3 separate regions of the Homo sapiens genome follow, and all the other regions are linked to region 1. Evidence: promoter capture Hi-C in 16 types of primary human blood cells and fetal thymus (Javierre and others, 2016). All regions are on one chromosome and are shown on one strand. Each heading gives the region's core, a stretch centred on a gene start or on the middle of the fragment in contact. The rest is flanking DNA. Distances are from core to core; before and after follow the strand shown. Region 1 holds the start of PPP2R2A (protein phosphatase 2 regulatory subunit Balpha). Region 2 overlaps DOCK5 (dedicator of cytokinesis 5). Region 3 overlaps DOCK5 (dedicator of cytokinesis 5).

Evidence for each region. The method cuts DNA at HindIII sites, captures the fragments that hold promoters and counts their contacts. A CHiCAGO score of 5 or more calls a contact.
Region 2: a contact is called between a fragment that was not itself captured here and the fragment with the promoter of PPP2R2A in region 1, in 1 of 17 cell types (M0 macrophages). The highest score is 6.4, in M0 macrophages.
Region 3: a fragment that was not itself captured here is called in contact with the fragment with the promoter of PPP2R2A in region 1 in 1 of 17 cell types (M2 macrophages); the score reaches 5.0 in M2 macrophages.

The regions. Positions count from the first base shown.
Region 1 is chr8:26,289,537-26,293,828 of GRCh38, forward strand. PPP2R2A (protein phosphatase 2 regulatory subunit Balpha) reads left to right here and starts at 1,972. Exons shown (of 10, transcript NM_002717.4): 1 at 1,972-2,290; 2 at 4,130-4,204. The coding sequence starts at 2,284. RefSeq lists a silencer at 1,774-2,123. The HindIII fragment of the contact is 3,300 bases long and covers 1-3,059 here.
Region 2 is chr8:25,235,647-25,240,454 of GRCh38, forward strand. All of the region lies in intron 1 of DOCK5 (dedicator of cytokinesis 5), which reads left to right. Among named protein-coding and RNA genes, the nearest start is that of DOCK5, 53 kb to the left of the region's middle. The HindIII fragment of the contact is 472 bases long and covers 2,486-2,957 here.
Region 3 is chr8:25,193,718-25,197,975 of GRCh38, forward strand. All of the region lies in intron 1 of DOCK5 (dedicator of cytokinesis 5), which reads left to right. Among named protein-coding and RNA genes, the nearest start is that of DOCK5, 11 kb to the left of the region's middle. RefSeq lists enhancers at 3,285-4,225, 4,226-4,258. The HindIII fragment of the contact is 4,013 bases long and covers 1-3,496 here.

The sequences.
Region 1 (4,292 bases), core at 722-3,221:
ATTGAAGAAAATACAGCACGCAGTGCACTGAAGTTTTGTACCTGTTGTACAGGTAGCCAAAAGATGACACATAGAGGGTGGATTTTTAGTTTTGATTAATTCATTGGTAACGTGGGAAATATTCATGCAGAAACAGAGGAATGATCATGCAGTGGTGCAGTTGTTCCTTTGAAGGAATTTTGAACGTTGCATTACAGTTCAACTGTCCTGGAAATCAAAAATATGGTAGAAAGTGGAGATGGTGGGGAGGACGTGTAAATATCTTTAACTCCCCCTTCTTGGTTTCCAAACGCCTTTATCACTCCATTCAGCCTTAGGCCAAATTCTGGATGCTTTTACAGGTGTTTTTCACGTGTAAAATGTGCATATCTATCTCCTAGGAGTATCGTGGAGATGGAATGGGATATGTAAAGTGTGCTGTATATAGCAACTGCATCATTAGAGCATCTTTCAACAGAAGTGCACATCCCCTCATAGCTGATGACTGGCATTTCCTGTTCATTTTTTTCCTTCTACCTCTTAACCTTACTGACGATGCTTTCAATACAAATCTAATAATAACGGCAGCTAACATTTATCATGTGCTCAAATTAAGTCATTTCATCTCCCCAACAATCCTATCAGGTAGGACTGTCATCTTCATCTCCTGAGCCTTGGAATCATATTAGGCAGCCTGGCTTCAGAGCCCAGCACTTTTTGTGTTTTTGTTTTTGTTTTGACAGGATCGCATTCTGTCTCCCAGGCTGGAGTGCAGTGATGTGATCACATAGCTCACTGCAGCCTTGACCTACTGGGCTCAAGCAGTCCTCCTACTGCAGCCTTCTAGTAGCTGGGACTATAGGCACGCCATCATACCTGGCTAATTTAAAAAAAAAAATTTTTTTTGGAGAGATGGGTCTCCCTATGTTCTCCAGGCCGAACTCGGAACTCCTGGCCTCAAGCGATCCTCCCACCTCGGCTTCCCAAAGTGCTGGGACTACAGGCGTGAGCCACCGCGCCCGGCCCTGAGCCCAGCTCTTAAGCACGCAGTCCAACACGTTTAGCTGGAGAGACGCCGGGTCACTTCTTGGGCCATACCCTCTCATCACAAACTCAGGTTTCTCTTAGAAATCACTCTTAGTGTCCGCAGTGCCTAGGACTCCCGCCTTGGATCCTGGGGCCCACGAGAAGGTAATTTAATTCACCCAGATAGAACCAGCCCAATCGTGTCCCTCTGAACCCCGTGAACTTTCACCCCGGCTGAGCAGTAAGTCTGCACCGCTGTCCCTTTCTTTGTGGTCTCAGGGCTAATCCAAAGTGACAATTTCCTAAGAAGCAGTACGGGGTTTTTTGTTTGTTTGTTTTTTGTTTTTGAGACGGAGTCTTGCTCTGTCACCCAGGCTGGAGTGCAGTGGTGCGATCTCGGCTCACTGCAACCTCTGCCTCCCGGGTTCAAGCAATTCTCACACCTCAGCCTCCCAAGTAGCTAGGATTACAGGCGCACACCACCACGCCTGGCTAATTTTTGTATATTTTTAAGTAGAGACGGGGTTTCACCATGTTGGCCAGGCTGGTCTCGAACTCCTGACCTTGTGATCCGCCCGCCTCAGCCTCCCAAAGTGCTGGGATTACAGGCATGAGCCACCGTGCCCGGCCCAGGTATTCCTAGAAGACATAGGACCCCATGAATCCTTGCAGGAGAGCACGTAAACTGGACTCCTAAGCCCGCCCCAGAGCCCCGGCGCTAGTGCTCGAGGCTGGGACACTGCTAGGTGCACACAGCCGCGGCCTGGCGCAGGCGGTGCGGACAGAGGGTATGCCATGGCGAGACGCTGGCGCGGCGCAGGCCCTGCCGGCCGGGACACGGAGGGCGGGGCACAGGCGCAGCAGGAAGGGGGCGTGGCCAAGAGCCGCCCGGCCGCTCCCCCGCCCCTCCCCCTCCGCTCTCCGCCCCAGCCCGGCGGCTCCGCCCCCTAGGTGACGTCACTGGCCAGGCCAGCCGGCGCCATTTTGAAAGTGGAGTCGCCTGCCCCTGCCGCTGCCGCCGCCGCCGTCGCTGTCGTAGTCGCCGCCGCCGCTGCCGGAGAAAGAGCACGAGCGGGGAAGCCCCAGAGTGAAATCTAGCATCCTGCCGGCTGGTCTGCCCGCCCCTCCTTCCTTTTCCCCCCGGCCCCCGTCCCCTCCCCCCGCAGGTGCCATCCGCCGCCATCCGCCCTCTCTACCCCCCCATCCCCAGGTGAGGGGGGTGAGTTCAGGAAGCGGAGACCCCGAGGAACCCAGCAGGGTCACCATTTGCAGCGCAACATGGCAGGTAAAGGAGAAATCCCCCTCGCCCCCTGACAAGGCACCGCTTCCTTATTCCTCCCTCCATCACCCCCTAGCGACCGCCCGCGCCTCGCGCAGAGCCACAGGGCGCCCCTCGGGTTTGAGGGAGTAGGGTCCAGAGGGGTGGGGTGGGGGCGGGGAGGGCTCCCGGGAGGCAAGTGGTCACGGTGAGAGTCACTGGGCTTGGAGAACGGGGCTGGCGCCGTGGCGGGGGTGGGGGTGGGGTGTGCCGGCGAGCTTGGGGTGAGGCGTGGGTGGGGCGGGGTGGGGGTGCGTGCAGATTTGTCCCTCCCGCTCGGGAGCCTGGTGGATCTTCTCCCACCTCCCCACCTTGCCCCCCGCCTTTATTTTTTTTTCCTGCAGGTCTTCATTTAATTTCTATTTTTCCCCCTGCTGCAAGCCTTCTTGGGTGTATATACACATTTATTTTGCCTCGAGAAGGAAGAGCGCCTTATAAGTTAAAATACAGTGGGGGCATATGTGTATTTTTTCCCCACTGTAGATGCCAATATTTTTGAGACTGGAAGCCTAAATTTTTTGTTTCGAACCATTTCGTTTCCGTTTCTTCCCTTTTACCGCCGAAGAGTGCAAGGCCTTTCATGTACAGCAAGTTGCATGAAAATAATTTAAACTTTGCGTTTAGCATGTTAGCTTTTTTGCAGATGTCCTTTTCCCAAAAGGGTTTGGTAGAGTTAGTTAAAATAGTTGCGGAGTTCAGAGATATAAATAGCAAGGAGGAGAGAGATTTAGGTAGAAGCTTTGAAGGGGAGGGGAAAGGATGTAGAGAGAAAACCAGTTTGGAAATAAATTTAGCAAGGAATAGGGGTGATGGGGGAGAGAGAAGTAATGTAATTGCTTTGAGAATTCTTTTTGTACATGTTGGTATTGCTAAATCTTTTCCTTCATGTAGTAGAATCAGTTGCAGATTTAGATTCAGTTTCTTTCTCCCTAGAGCCCCAGGACATTTTCAATCATTTCGACCTCAGTACTTGCACGTGAAATAGAAACATTCCGAGATGAGACCAGTTTTCCGTGCTGTATTCATTATTTAGATAATTAAACCTTTTGAAAAAGTTAACATGTCGGATTGACTTACGGTTTGCTATAAACAAGTTGCTTGTTGGCCTTGTTGAAAAATGAAATGAGATTAAAATTGTTTTGCACGAGATGACATTAGCAAAATGAATTCTTTGCCAGGTCCTTTGGAGTCAAGGGATGAGGTGAAGGGAGGCAGAACAAGCTTCCTTTGACAGTCTCTTTAGCAGCATTCATTTCGGTTTCTTTTCCTCTCTGTCTGGAGCCAGTGATTTGCTGGTAATGAATGCAAAGAAATGGGTGTAGTGTTTGCTGTGTGTGCACTTTGGTGATAAGGTTCATATGAATCATTACTCCTTACCCAGGCAGTAATGTTCCCGAAGTTTTCTCTTCGTTCTATGTTTCATGGTAGTTTAACCTTATTAACTCTTCTGCAGGCTTTTTGTACACTTAAGAAAACTCTTTAACTCTTGGTATTTACTTTTTTTCTGGTAGGTCTTGCCTGAATGTAAGGCTTTTACTGTATTTGACAGGAAGTTTGTGAACAGATGTTTAATGACCACAGAACATGTGCCTTTAAATATTTCGTACCTGGAATCTTTTTTTTCTTTCTAATGCAGTACCAAGTATTGGGGACTAACCTCTTTCCAAACTGGTGCTCTTGGTGGTAGTTGTATGTGTGGGCAGAACTAGGCTGTTAGTATCATGCCAACCATGGATACCATCTTTGTGTTTACGAGAGTCAACATAAGCAGAACTCGGTTTTAATTGGTATGTTTTCTTTTTCCAGGAGCTGGAGGAGGGAATGATATTCAGTGGTGTTTTTCTCAGGTGAAAGGAGCAGTAGATGATGATGTAGCAGAAGGTAAGAAAGCGTTTAATGCAAAATTTGGATATATAATTTTTGCAGAAATGTTTCCTACTGGAGGATTTCCTTGAAGCCGAGACTGCTA
Region 2 (4,808 bases), core at 1,472-3,971, 1.1 Mb before region 1:
GGCTTCTAAGTCATCACTTGCTGCCAGTGAGGCAATCAAGAAACAATATTTGAGTTTATATCTGAGAAATACCCCTCCAGTTCAAGATATTTATCTATTCCCTTCACAAATATATGTAATCTTTAAGATAGAGATTTTTTTCTTTTCTTTTCCTTTTTTTTTTTTTTTTTTGAAACGGAGTCTCACTGTCGTGCAGGCTGGAGTGCAGTGGCACGATCTCAGCTCACTGCAACCTCCACCTCCTAGATTCAAGCGATTCTCATGCCTCAGCCTCCCGAGTAGCTAGGATAACAGGTGCGTGCTGCCATGCCTGTCTAATTTTTATATTTTTAGTAGAGACTGGGTTTTACCATGTTGGCCAGGCTGATCTTGAACTCCTGGCCTCAAGTGAGCCACCTGCCTCGGCCTCCCAAAATGCTGGAATGACAGACATGAGCCACTGCACCTGGCCAAGATAGAGATTTCTAAATAGTAATCAATGCATTGATTATGAAATCCTCTCTTCTCCTAAACTATCTAGAAAATGAAGTTAAGAATCCTGTAAGAGCCTGCTCTTATGGAGTACTGTTGGTGAGAAGTAGAGCTGATGTCCTAACCTGATAGCCTCCGTCCTGGATGGGTCTGAGCAGAGAGGTGGCGTGATGGTCATCTCATTGTAGAAAGACTGATTTGGAACCTACTTGTAATTATCATCCTAAAACCACAGATTTGACTTCTTGGTGTTATACCTATTATTGAATATGATTTTCTTGTCCTTATAGTACAGTGTAATTACAGAGCATAAGAAAATGAAATCTGTTTGGCCCTCTTGGATATCATTGCAGGAAAGCCAAGATGAAGATCAAAGATGAGTTGTGCCTCTTTAGTTTTTATAGAATGCATATCTGAAACTAGGCAGATCAAGATCATAATGGAAAAGAAGAATTGTAACCATCTTTTTTTTATTTTTTTTGAAACAGAGTCTCACTCTGTTGCCCAGGCTGGAGTGCAGTGGTGCGATGCTGGCTCACTGCAGCCTCCGCCTCCCAGGTTCAAGCGATTCTCCTGCCTCAGCCTTCTGAGTAGCTGGGATTACAGGCATGAGCCACCACACCCAGCTAGTTTTTTTGTGTGGTTTTTTTTTTGTATTTTTAGTAGAGATGGGGTTTTACCATGTTGGCCAAGCTGGTCTCGAACTCCTGACCTCAACTTATCCACCTGCCTCGGCCTCCCAAAGTTCTGGGATGACAGGCATAAGCCACTGCGCCTGGCCATAGTCATCTTTGGAATATTATGAATGATATATGTCTCCAATGGGTATCTCATTCTGTGTTTGCTGGATCTTTCTTTTGTAGATTCTATCAGGTGACTAATAAAAAATATAATGTAGCTATTCTTCAGGGGATTGTAATTTGAGGATTCATGTAATAATCTCATTCATTAGAAATATTCATTACTTGGCCGGACTGGATGTCCCATGCCTGTAATCTGAGCACTTTGGGAGGCCAAGGTGGGTGGATCACATGAGCCCAGGAGTTCGAGACCAGCCTGTCCAACATGGTGAAACTTTGTCTCTACAAAAAAATTTTAAAAATTAGCCAGGTGTGGTGGCACATGCCTGTCGTTCTAGGTACTTGGGGGGATGAGGCGGGAGGATCACCAGAGCCTAGGGAGGTCAAGGCTACAGTGACCCACGATTGTGCCACTGTACTCTGGCCTGGTTGATAGAGTGAGATCCTGTCTCAAAAAAATAAAAAATAAACATAAAAAAAGAAATATTTATTACTTTCTAGCCTACAGACTTTTCATTGTCAAAACTGATCACTCAGTTTGCAGCCAGTAAGTCTGTTCTGTTGGTTTCTTATTGCATAATCCCAGGACTTCAGTTTTCTTCTCTCATGTAAGCCTGGTTTAAAAGAAAGAGCCAAATCAAAGATTCAGTAAAATGCAAACTATTTTGTCTTGTCTACTTGGCTCTGCAAAATTATACTTTCCTGTTATAAACAGTAAGCTGCTTAGGGAAGAATTCCAGCAATTTGTCTTTCCCAGTGCTGTTCATGGCAGCCAGCGAGGCAACGTATGTACAGCAACTCCCGGTTCTTGTTTAATTTCCTCAGTCAAAACAAGAGATTGTGGTGGTGCCTGCCGGTTCAAAAATGGCACATGTTTCTTTTGCCTCTTCTCATTACCCCGTGAATCAGAAGGCGTTAGAACCAGAGGGCTCTTTAAAGGCAATCCTGTTTTACAGATAAGAAACTGAGGCCTAGGCTTAGTAGCTCATTCAAGGTCATGCATTGTGTAAGTGGTAAAGTTGAGTCTTGAATCCGTTTTGCTTACCCTGAGGTTTTTCTTGGTTTCCCATTTCTCTAGCTTTCTCTATAACAGTTATTCATGTTCTAGAAAGAAACTATGGGCCCACTAAGTGCATTAGCTGTACTCTCATTCTTGAAATAGCATCAGACTAGCGGACAATGTGATCACCAGTCACTGATGTGTGTGATGAGAAAGCTTGGTTTGGGAAGTAGGATGGTCATTTAAAGAGAGAAATCTAGGCTCTTCTCTTTGTTTCTGGGCTATTCCAGGGCATATCTTCACCACTATGGACTGGCTTGGTCAAATGTGATGAATAGACCAGCTTTATAACAGCTTTGCTGCTTGCAAGCTGGGTTTAACCCTTCTGAGTCTCAGCTTCCGCATTAAATAATGTGACACCTGGCATCCACTGTATACAATTACTAAGATATATATGAAAGTAAACTATGAAATACGCTGGAAATGTGAGGTATATTATGATATGGAGGGCATACTACCAAACCCAAGAGTTAGAATGAATAGATGACGGCGGTGATTGGAAATCTTGTTTGTGCTTTTGCCCAGAGACATGAAACAGATTGTACAAACATCCTCTAAGCGGTGACTTTTCATTCCAGTGAAAGGCATTCTTGAAGGGATGTGCTTCTAACATGAATCTCTTTGAAAGCTTAGGTTGGAGAGGCAGATTCTCTCTTGTGATAAACCAAATGGATGGAGAAGTGATTTTAGTAACCCTTTCTTGAGTGATGGGAAACCACAGCCTCTGCTCTGGAGGAAAGCAGAAGTGTGTTTGAGTTTGGGGAAGAAGTGGTGAATAACTGAATTTTTTGATGGATTTTATAGAAGAGATAAAAATATGTGTTTTTAAAATATATTCTTTTCTGACATCGTTATTATACCTTGAGTACTTTCTTTGGGACTAAGCCTGTGCCTTGTAATGAGAAAGACACAAAAGTAATGTGTAACGAGGGCCCCAATCATAGGGATTTCCTTCTAATTGATGGCAGACAATTACACAAGATTGTCTATGATTAAAAACCCAAACTGCGCTGGAAGGGAAAATTGTTGTGGAATGTCAGAGAAGAAAGAGATCCACGCAGGTAATCGGGAGCTAGTAGCCATTTGTTGAATTGCATTGTGGATGTGAGATTTGGATTGTTACAAATCAAGACAGGCCCTTGTTCTAGGCAGAAACAAACCATGGACTGAGCTCAGAATTTAGGGGAGAACATAGGAGTCTTCACTGGAGAGTAGGCTGGAATTTCGCAGATAGTGGAGACAAAGACAGATAATTACGGGCTGGGACAATTTTGGAGGTATTTTGGGTCAGGCTTAGAGATCTAGGTTTTAAGCAAACCGGTCTTTGGTGTGTGCGTGTATATGTGTGTGTGTGTGTGTGTGTATGTGTGTGTGTGTGTGTGTGTGTGTGTGTTTCCAGCAGTCCTTGGTAGGTGTTTGTGTTTGGAGCTTCCAGTGCAAGGTGCTGCCTTTGAGAGCTTCTGCTTACTTTTCCAATGACCGGAACCAGGAAGAGGTGAAGCTTGGTCATTACACAATGCATTGTGACTCAGTGACCTCACTACTTCCTGTTTTCATTTGAGAAGGGGGCCAATGGAAGGGACCATTTCAGTACAAGGCCATGAATAGGGAGTAGGAGATGTCAAGGATATGAGGTCTGCCAAACTAGCAGGCAGAGCATTTGCGTAAACCAGCAGACGAATGAAGGAGTTGAACTCCACTGGAATAGCAGCGGTGGCCCAGTTACCCATGAGAAAGTCTAGGAATTGGGAATTACTCCTACTTCTGAATCGCGTGCGATTTCTCCTAACCTATGTCACCAGCCAATCCTGGTTGTAAATTCATAGCCTAGTCCATAAGCTCAATAGTAAAATAAATTCCAACATACTTTGTCCAGGCTTCTGTGCCAGGAGTGCAGGAGAGCACTACTTGGATGACTTCCTTTATCAAGGAGAGGCCACTGGAAAACAGGTGGCTGGACGTGTGCTCCTTCCTGCTCACTGAGAGGTTGACTGTGATGTAAGCCAAGCTGCAGGTGCAGGGTGCACTGCAGGCCCAGGGAAGAGCTGGGAAGAGCCGGGAAGACCCACCACTGGCAATGTCAAGGACGCCTTTCTTCCCTGTGGGATATACTGATGGACTGAGTGACTATCCATTCATCAGTGTGGATGGCCACTCATCAGGCCTGCAGAGATGGGAGCCTTATGGGTTCCTTGGATTGTCAAGTCCATGGCTAGAGCTGAATCTCTAAGGGAGTTCTTTTTTCCTGGAAAGATGTAGTTCCCTCATCAGTAGAGTGAGGGTAAGAAGTAAATCTACTTAAAAAAAAAAAAAAACCAGCTTCCGTCAAGTGTAATTTATATACCATAAAATCCACCCGTTTTAAGCATATAATTCACTGATTTTTAGTAAATTTACAGAGTTGTGTAAATATCACCGCAACCCAGTTTTAGGATGTTTTCATCTCCCCAAGAAGCTCCTTAGGGCCTTTTGTGGTC
Region 3 (4,258 bases), core at 240-2,739, 1.1 Mb before region 1:
TCGTGCCACTGCACTCCAGCCTGGGTGAGCGAGTGAGACCCTGGTCAAAAAAAAGGCAGAAAAATAAGAGAAATGTGGCAGTAAATAGACCCTGAAAAAGACACTTGTTTACAATATGTTAGCTGAAAAAAGAATGCAGAGCGTCACCTTGCTCACCCTTAGCTAGGAACTTGTGCAGGAGTATTGGTTTTAAGGTTCCATGTATATTTTAGTGAGTAGGTGAATTCGCAAATATGGAGTCTGTCAACAATGAGGATCTACTGTAGTTTCACAAAACGATAATTGAAGCCGGGCATGGTGGCTCACACCTGTAATACCAGCACTTTGGGAGGCTGAGGCGGGTGTATCACCTGAGGTCAGAAGTTCGAGACCAGCCTGGCCAACATGGCGAAACCCTATCTCTAAAAAATACAAAAAAAAAAAAAAATTAGCCAGGTGTGGCGGTGCTCACCTGTCATTGCAGCTACTAGGGAGGCTGAGGTAGGAGAATTGCTTCAGCCCAGGAGGCGGAGGTTGCAGTGAGCCAAGATCACGCCACTACACTCCAGCCTGGGTAACAGAGCAAGACTCTGTCTCAAAAAAATAAAAGATAATTGAAAATGGAATCACTTCCTTTCCCCATGTGTTTGTTTTTGTTCACATATTGGATGCAGTTGACTTTACTTCTAGAAACATTTTCTTCTCTAGACTTTTGATCCCATTTCTCCACAGTTTTCCTCCCATATCCCCACCCTCCATCCTCCCTGCCTTCCCTCCGCTTTGCCACAACTTTAAGTCTTGCCATAGCCTGGCTGGCTTTTGTGTCTCCTTTATCTACCTGATAACAAGTGATCTCATCCCCCGCCTTGGCTCTCATTCCCATTCATTTGCTGCAGCCTTCCACATGGATAGCCCCAGACCCCTTCCCTGTGCTTCGGGATCACATACAGCTGTTCACTGGGCGTCTCCCAGTGTTTTTCTTAACAGGCAGTCCCTGCTTCCAGAACAGAAGTTTGGATCCTCTCTAACCCCAGAACCGCACTTTCCCCAGTTTCTTGCTGTCTGTCCAGTGGCCCAGGCAGAACACTAAGAGTCACCCCACATTCTATCTGTCATCAAGTGCAGTCTGTCCTTCCTCCAAAATATGTCCTCAGATTACTGCTGCTGATGTTTCCATTTCAATGCAAGCCTGCATTAGCGTCTGCAGGGCTACTGCAACGGTATTTTTTTTTTTTTCTTTTGGGGACGGAGTCTCGCTCTGTCGCCCAGACTGGAGTGTAGTGGCGCAATCTTGGCTCACTGCAACCTCCACCTCCTGGGTTCAAGTGATTCTCCTGCCATAGCCTCCCGAGTAGCTGGGACTACAGGTGCGCATCACCACACCTGGCTAATTTTTGTATTTTTAGTAGACATGGCATTTCATCTTGTTGACCAGTCTGATCTTGAACTCTTGACCTCAAGTGATCCACCCGCCTTGGCCTCCCAAAGTGCTGGGATTACAGGAATGAGTCACCACGCCCAGCTGCAATGGTCTTCTAACTGGACTCCTTATCACTTTTTTTTTTTTTTTTTTTTTTTTAAGATGGGCATCTTGCTTTGTTGCCCAGGCTGGTCTTGAACTCCTGGCCTCAAGTGATTCTCCTGCCTCAGCCTCACAAGTGCTGGAATTACAGGCATGAACCACCAAGCCCAGCTAAGAGGAACTTTTTAAAGGCAAGAACCTGACATTGCCACCTCCCTGCTTCCACCTTCCCATTGCAGTTGGGATGGCACTGAAGTTCCTGGTCATGCCCTCCCGGCCCTGTGGGATCAGACCTGCCGCCTCCCTCTTTCCCTTCTGCATTCCAGCCACACCAGCTTTATTTCTGGTTTTTGAACTTGCCAAGCTCAGCTTGACTCAGGACCTTGGCACTTACTCCTCCCTCTTATGGAATGTGTTTCCCTAGATCTTTAGATGTCCGGTTCTCTGGTCTTCCTTCAAATAATCCCTGCTTAGAGAGAGCCTTCTCTGAGAAGAACCCTAGCTGCATGATCCCACCTCCTTGCTGACACCTCACAATGTCTAGCCCTTTTCCTTTATTTATTTGTTAGTGTTTACTGTCTGTCTCCCATACTAGAATGTAAAGTTATGAGGACACGAACTCTTTTTCATCAGTGTGCCCCAGCCCCTGGAATAGCACCTGGCTCATAGTAAGTCCTCAGTGAATATATGCTGTATGAATAAATGAATACTGACCCCATCATCTCTTTAAATTCATCTTGCTTACCATCAGCAGGATTTTGCCCACACTTTGGAAAATACCACCCTGTGTGTATTTCCCATGAGAGAAACATCAAAGGCAGAGAGAAAGGGACATTCAAGTAATGGAGAAAATAGATTTAATAAACTGCATAAGCAAAAGATTACGTGAATCCTGTGGGGTGGGTGAGGACTTAGAATCATAAATGTTGCATTATTAGATGGAAGTGATGGGATTTGCTTTTTTATTTTTGGGTCATTATTTCTGGAGGCTTTATGGAGGAAGGGGCACTGCAGACTTGGCTACCTGGAAAGAAAATGCTTGACCATGTGGTGTACAGAGTTTAGGAGGTTCTGAGTCATTGGTTGGTGCTGTGTTGAGCACATGAATTGGAAAGGAAAGAAGGCGCAGTCTCATGGAAGAAACAAGACATTTAGATTCATCTGTTATTTCCCATTTCTAATACAAGGAGTTGAGATTCCTTACAAAAAGAGCATATGTACTGTACACTCAATAATTAAATAAAAAATCTGAGAAATCACAAGTAATTTGGAGAAGAAGAAAAAGTAATTTAGAATACTGGCAAGGGGCTTTGAAGCCATGGTTACTCAAACATTAGTCTGTCTAAATTTTTCTTGTGGCCATAGCTGTCATGTAGCCATCTTGTTAGCTGAAAATATAAATTAATTTGTGTTTTCTCCTCATCTAAATTTCAAGAGACAAATCAGTGGGGCTTGAATGTAAGGAATCAAATCTCATTGTACTTAATTTTACCATAAAGCAAAGTTTTTCTAACTTCTAGCTTATTGCCAGCAGTATTCAATGCAATGACGTTATAATGCAATGCATATAAAAGATTTTAGTACTTTCAAAAGAATTAAAAAAAAGGAATCATCCAGTTCTTTGGAATGAGTTGTAGCGGAATTGAACCGTATGTCTGTGGTCAAGGAACACACAGTTTGTTCTTCACTAAATATTTTGGCTGGGCACCGTGGCTCATGCCTGTAATCCCAGCACTTTAGGAGGCTGAGGCTGGAGGATTGCTTGAGCCCAGGAGTTTGAGACCAGCCTGGGCAACATAGTGAGACCCTGTCTATTATTTAAAAAAAAAATTAGTAGAAAGAAAAATCGTTTTCCCCTTCCTCAAACAGGTAAAATCACCCAGAATATGCCTACTCTCCGTGGACATTAAAGGACATAATAAGCCCTTTGGGAGTCCTTTGACTGATTTATAACTACACCAGCATACCTCCGGAATAATGGGGGTTTTATTGTCAAGCTTTATAAAAGTGTTTTTTGAGAAATTATTTTGAGGCAGAGATGTGGATGAGCACGTTAATTGTGTTTTTCCAAGTAATGTTTGGGCCATGTCCTCTCAGAGCCTGGGCTCACTCAAACGATTGTCTGAATGCTGGCAGCCACTTCCCAAGCAAGAGACAGAAGTGGGCTTTGTCTTTCAGAAAGCTCTGTGCCATTGCAAAGCCACTGTTGTTCGAATGGGTTCATGGTCATTATCCACCTTTTCCCAAATGTGCCGTTTGCTCTCATATTTCCACAGCTGATTAAACCCTGTCACTATCCACATCAGATAATAGTTGGACCCCAAAGATGCCCTCTCTTTAAGGATCGTGTCTTTGTCTTTTTTTTTTTTTTTTTTTTTTTTTTTGAGAAGGAGTCTCGCTCTGTTGCCAGGGTGGAGTACAATGGCGTGATCTCGGCTCATTGCAACCTTCGCCTCCTGGGTTCAAGAGATTCTCCTGCCTCAGCCACCCAAGTAGCTGGGACTACAGGTACATGCAACCATGCCAAGCTAATTTTTTTTTTTTTTTTTTGAGACGGAGTCTCGCTCTGTCACCCAGGCTGGAGTGCTGTGGCGCAATCTCGGCTCACTGCAAGCTCAGCCTCCCTGTTTCACGCCATTCTCCTGCCTCAGCCTCCTGAGCAGCTGGGACTACAGGTGCCCACCACCATGCCCGGCTAATTTTTTGCATTTTTAGTAGAGACGGGGTTTCACTGTGTTAGCCAGGATGGTCTCGATC